2 separate regions of the Homo sapiens genome follow, and region 2 is linked to region 1. The links are contacts of gene promoters, found by promoter capture Hi-C in human tissues and cell types (Jung and others, 2019). All regions are on one chromosome and are shown on one strand. The core of a region is centred on a gene start or on the middle of the fragment in contact, and the rest is flanking DNA. Distances in the headings are between cores, read along the strand shown. Region 1 holds the start of ACP2 (acid phosphatase 2, lysosomal). Region 2 holds the start of MIR4487 (microRNA 4487).

Region 1 (2,711 bases), core at 89-2,588:
TAGAAACGTGAGCCACCACACCAAGCCTAATCAGGTTTTTGTTGTTGTTGTTTTGAGACAGTCTCACTCTGTCGCGCAGGCTGGAGTGCAGTGGCGTGATCTCAGCTCACTGCAACCTCCGCTTTCCGAGTTCAAGCGATTCTCCTGCCTCAGCCTCCAGAGTAGCTGGGATTACAGGAGCACGCCACTGCACCCGGCTAATTTTTTTTTTTTTGTATTTTTAGTAGAGACGGGGTTTCGCCACGTTGGCCAGGCTGGTCTCGAACTCCTGACCTCAGGTGATCTGCCTGCTTCGGCCTCTCAAAGTGCTGGTATTACAGGTGAGCCACGGCGCCCAGGCCAAGCCTGATCAGTTTTGTTTCCCAAAGATCTGAGGAGATTTGCTTCCAGTAGGCAGATCTGAATCAAAGCATCCCCAGGACCTATGATCTGACCTGCAACCGTCACAGGAGTCACAAAGTCCTGAGGCCAAACTGGCTGCACCTGAATCCTAATGGTCAATGCCAAGAGGGCCATTGATTCTGTGGAAACCCCACCTACTCCCACTTTATGATATGCGCCTGTCCCTTACCTCAAAATACCTCCCCACTGGTCTGAAATTCCTCCCCCAGGGATTCAGTGCTTTGGGTTTGTAAAGTCTGAACATCCTGTGCAACCCAACTCCTTTGGGAAGAGGCATGACATGACGTCTTGACTCTAATTAACTAAAACTTGGAAGTGGAGGGGAGGGAGGACAGGGAAAGGACTGGAAGGGAAAGTGAGAGGGCTACTGAAGCTTTGTGCAGGGCAGGAACGGTAGGCCAGACTGGGGCAACCTCAAGGACACACGGAGTCCAAAGGGTTGTTTACATACTGTGTCCTGCACCCCAAGCAAAACATCTCCTGGAGAACAGGGCCAGGGCTCAATCTCCCCACAAAGGCAGGGGCGTGGAGAGAAGCGACCTCTACTTTCCCATCCCTCGCCTCAATTCTGCACCCGATCTAGCTATGGGGTCAAGCCTGGAGGGGACGCTGGTTCTCCAGACATGGTCCCGCCCACTGCAAGTGCCACCTTGGTAAGGGATTTCTCCGAGCAGAGGCAAACGCGAATTTGTGGCCTTCTTAATCAAGATGAGGTCTTCGAGCCCTGTCTGCCGCGCCAGGTCGCGTTACCTTCTTATGCTCCTCCGCCACAGCCAGACCACGACCCTCCTGCACGCAATCCCACCGAGACTGCGCCTTTTCCCCGCACCCCAGCAGGTCCCTAAGTAAGATGGCGGCGAACGCACTTCCGGCGTGTGTCCTTACGGGTGCGTCCGGGCGGCTGCTTGCAGGTGCCACCCAGCGGGTTCCAGCTTGTTTGCTGCATAGATTACAACGGTGATGGCGGGCAAGCGGTCCGGCTGGAGCCGGGCGGCTCTCCTCCAGCTCCTTCTCGGCGTGAACCTGGTGGTGATGCCGCCCACCCGGGCCCGGAGTCTGCGCTTCGTTACCTTGGTAATGAGAGATGGGCTCACCAAAGACTTCCCTGAAGCTAAAAGGGCAAAGGCCAGCTGGTGGAGGTCGAGGATCTCGGGAAGGAACAGCTGGTTTAGGAGGGGACGACTGGCCTGGGTAGTTGGGAGGCTGGATTCAGGATTGACCTGGAGCCCTGGCTTATGGGAGTCAGGATGACCGAATACGTCGGGGTGAGTCTGCCTTGAGACAGGGAAGTGGTTGAATGGTTAAGACTCATCCCTAAAGAAGCCTTTGGTTATCTTTTTTCCCCAGTTGTCCCCACCACATACGTTGCTTTCACTTCTCTTTTCCCTTCCTACCTGTACCTTGGCTTTGCCTATGGTCTCCAGTAGCATTGCTTAGCTAAGTTAGAATCTCTGGAATCTGGAAGAAGTGACTGACTCCTAGCTGGGGTCTTTTGCAGCCAGTAGGCTTCCCAGAGGGAATGAGACTTCCTTCCCTAACATGGGGCAAAAGGTAGGCTCTGGGTCCCTATCAAGGGGATGCTTCTGACCTATAGGCAAACCATTTTATTCTCTCAGCTGTACCGCCATGGAGACCGTTCACCAGTGAAGACATATCCCAAGGACCCCTATCAGGAAGAAGAATGGCCCCAGGGGTTTGGTCAGTTAACCAAGGTGGGTCAGAAGCCAGCCTTTCCTCAGGATGAGCTGCAGAATGAGCGACGTCTAGAGCAGTCTACAAAACTTGGGGTCCTACTAAACTGCCTTTTCCCATATGGGTGCTGACTTTGACCAGATTTCATAACCTTAATCTCTGTGCCCATGATATTGCTGTGCATGACTGGCCACTTAATGAAAGACTTCTGGGATCAGATTAATTGACTCCAGCAAAGCGTGAACCTGGAAAGCAACAGGGCCTAAACCCCATGGGGCTTGAAGCCACCCCTTCCCTCTAGACCCTCTTAACCCTTGGGTTTGCCCACAGGAGGGGATGCTACAGCACTGGGAACTGGGCCAGGCCCTGCGGCAGCGCTATCACGGCTTCCTAAACACCTCTTATCACCGGCAAGAGGTAAGGTTGGGAGCTCCAGAGGCAAGGGGAACAAGGTATGCTGCCCTCATCTTTTGCCCTCAGGGAGCCTAAGGCTGAGGCTGGGCACTTTGGCCTCCTTCTTGTATTTTTGGTCACAACTACAGGAAAAGACATCTGAGAGCTGTCTGGAACAAAGCCCTAGGAGCTGAGTTGCCCCTGCTTGGCTGGGATGAGGCAAA
Region 2 (2,896 bases), core at 144-2,643, 150 kb before region 1:
GCTCTCCCTAGGGGGCTATTTGGAGCCGCATCCTGACTAGCCACATGCAGGAGGGCCTGCTGCTCCCCTCCTTGCCAGCTCTGGCTGAAGGACAGTTCCCTTCTGCCCTTCAGCCAGCTCTGGCTGAAGGACAGTTCCCTTCTGCCCTTCAGCCAGCTCTGGCTGAAGGACAGTTCCCTTCTGCCCTTCAGATGGTGTAAATAGCATCTCATTGTGGTCTGAATTTGCATCGCCCTCATCAGCAGTGAGGCTGAGCCTCCCTTAGATGGTATTTGAGCAAATTCGTTTTCTCTGCCCTAACATGCCTGCGCTGCGTGTGTGTTATCTATTTTTTTATATTGGATTGCTTGATTTTCTTTTCCTTGATTTGCAAGAGTTCCTTATGTATTTTTGAGGCTATGCCCCGCTGCACTCCGCAGGCATCTCCAGTTGTGACTTCCTTTTCACTTTCTCTGAGGTGTCTCCGCTTCTCTCTCCCCCCCCCACACCTGTCCCAGGGAGGCCACTTGGCATTGTTAGTGTGGGGGGAGGTCGTGTGCCTCTCAGAGCCCTGTTTAAACTGACTCCACTGTTCCTCTTGTCCCTGGGGCCTTAAGGAACCCCTTTCCTCTTCCTTCTCAGACCCCCTCCCATTTTTGGCGAAGACAACTTAGTTTGGGGAGCTCCTATTGGGTTGTGGGCGAGTATCCCGGGACAACTCGGGCCTCACTGCAATGGTGTCCCCCCCCCCCCGTCTCGGTTATTTATCACTTCCGGCTGCCCACCTGGGGGGGCTGGGCCCCCTCTCCGCTCGACTGGGCCGCAGCCGGGCAGCTCGGGCGCTCCCCTGGGGGCGGGCGGCGCGGGGGAGGGGCCCTAGGGGGGCGGGGCCGGGGGCCGGGCCTGCGGCGGGGGCTGGAGTTGGGGGGCGGAAGCTGCCGGAGCAGATAAGGGCCGAGGTCGGCCCTGCGGTGGGACAGTGCGGGACACCGCCTCCGCCCCCGGCCTCCCCAGAGCGCCCCCGCACCCTGGAGACCCCCTCCTGCTACCCAGGCTTGGCATCCCGGGAGGAGACCCCAGGGAGCAGTGGGGGATGAGGCTCCAGCCTGCTCACAGCCTCAGCGACGAGCGGCAGCGGGGCTTCACGCCTCAGTTATCTCAGCTGGAAAATGGGGGTAGGAGCTCGGTTTTCCCCACAGGGCTGTTGGTGATGGACCAAGTGCAGGCTTGTGAAGGTCTCTGTGGGTTGGGCGAGTTTTGAACAGAGGGTCCTCTAAGCATCGCATCGCCTCATTCATCCCCATTGTATAGATGGCAAAGTGGGGAGTTTCACCCAAAGCCCCAGAGCCAGCATGCAAAAAGCAAGTGGGAGGGGGTTGGAACGCTTTCCACCGCCCCACCCTGGGGACAGATCTAGGTTCCCAGGAGCCTGAAGCTTAAAACCATTTGGGGGGGCACTCTTTAAGGAAAAGATTACAAAGTCACAAATACAAAATTGCTGAGAGGCTGGGCGCAGTGGCTCACACCTGTAATCCCAGCACCTTGGGAAGCCAAGGTGGGCGGATCACTTGACGTCAGGAGTTCCAGACCAGCCTGGCCAACATGGTGAAACCCTGTCTCTACTAAAATACACAAATTAGCTGGACGTGATGGTGGGCGCCTGTAATCCCAGCTACTCGGGAGACTGAGGCAGGAGAATCGTTGAACCCGGGAGGCAGAGGTTGCAGTGAGCTGAGATGATCGCACCACTGCACTCCAGTCTGGGTGACAGAGCTAAACTCTGTCTCAAAACAAAAAACAAAAACAAAACAAAACAAAACAAAACAGCCGTTCGCGGTGGCTCACACCTGTAATCTCAACACTTTGGGAGGCCAAGGTGGGTGGATCACCTGAGGTCAGGAGTTCGAGACCAGCCTGGCCAACGTGGTGAAATCCTGTCTCTACTAAAAATACAAAACATAAAATAAAATAATTAGCCAGGCGTGGTGGCGCTCTCCTGTAGTCCCAGCTACTCGGGAGGCTGAGGCAGCAAAATTACTTGAACCCGGGAGGCAGAGGTTGCAGTGAGCCGAGATTGTGTCACTGCATTCCAGCCTGGGCAATAGAGTGAGACTTCATCAAAAAAAAAACCAAAAAAATAAAAAACAAAAACAAAATTGCTGAGACCCCTTCCAGGGCCTCAGAAGGAGCTGAGCCAGTGAGGAAGCTCAAATGCAGCTTTCTTAGTGTCTCAGCCCCACCATGCAGGCCCCCTGGAAGGGGTTATACCCCTCTCCCAAGAAAGTCAGACACCAACAAGCTTAGAGGGCAGGGTGGCCCAAGGCAATATGTCAGGGAGGTGCCGCTGCAGCTGGTCCCCAACCCCTTGCATGCCCAGGCAGCAGTCCCTCAGCCCAACCAAGAGCAAGGGCAGTCAGGTATTTGCAGACTGCAGCCTCAGCCAGGCAGGGCCAAGCCCTCCAGTCCCATCCAGTCATGGTTCAACTTGCCACCCAGGGCCCCAACCCTGCAAGCTAGGAAGGTACAGAAGAACTCCTAGGAGAAAAGGAAGGAGGGGCTCTCAGGTATATGTAAGTGCATGGGACTTGGAGTTAGACAGGATTGGGGTTCAAGCCCCTGCAAGGCTGTGTGACCTTGGGACATCTCTTTTCCCTGGGTTTCCTCGTATGTAAAATGGGAGTAATAATCGTACCTACTGGACAGAGCCGGTGCCTGAAGGAGGGCTGGGCCCATGGCTGTTAGAAACACATTTCCCTCCTGTGAGATCTCCAGGCCAGGAGAGGCATTTTCTCCCATTTTCATGTTGTCACTTACCCAGGGGGTGGTCTCTCCATTGCAGAGCTGAGATTTAAATGCGGAAATGTCTGGTGCAGATGCACTCAGGTCTCACCACCAGGAATGCTGCCTCTTTGGGCCT

What was found. The method cuts DNA at HindIII sites, captures the fragments that hold promoters and counts their contacts. A contact is called where the count stands out against the background at its distance.
Region 2: a fragment that was not itself captured here is called in contact with the fragment with the promoter of ACP2 in region 1 in 6 of the 25 tissues and cell types used here (H1 embryonic stem cells, IMR-90 fibroblasts, dorsolateral prefrontal cortex and 3 more).

Annotation. Positions count from the first base shown.
Region 1 is chr11:47,247,441-47,250,151 of GRCh38, reverse strand. ACP2 (acid phosphatase 2, lysosomal) reads left to right here and starts at 1,338. Exons shown (of 11, transcript NM_001610.4): 1 at 1,338-1,476; 2 at 2,019-2,114; 3 at 2,425-2,511. The coding sequence starts at 1,363. It also overlaps a transcript of NR1H3 not described here. RefSeq lists a silencer at 895-1,062 and enhancers at 1,143-1,652, 1,783-1,872. The HindIII fragment of the contact is 13,067 bases long and covers 1-2,711 here.
Region 2 is chr11:47,398,248-47,401,143 of GRCh38, reverse strand. All of the region lies in intron 2 of SLC39A13-AS1 (SLC39A13 antisense RNA 1), which reads left to right. It overlaps MIR4487 (microRNA 4487), which reads right to left and starts at 174; the gene lies at 102-174. RefSeq lists an enhancer at 1-706 and a silencer at 756-1,115. The HindIII fragment of the contact is 6,212 bases long and covers 1-2,896 here.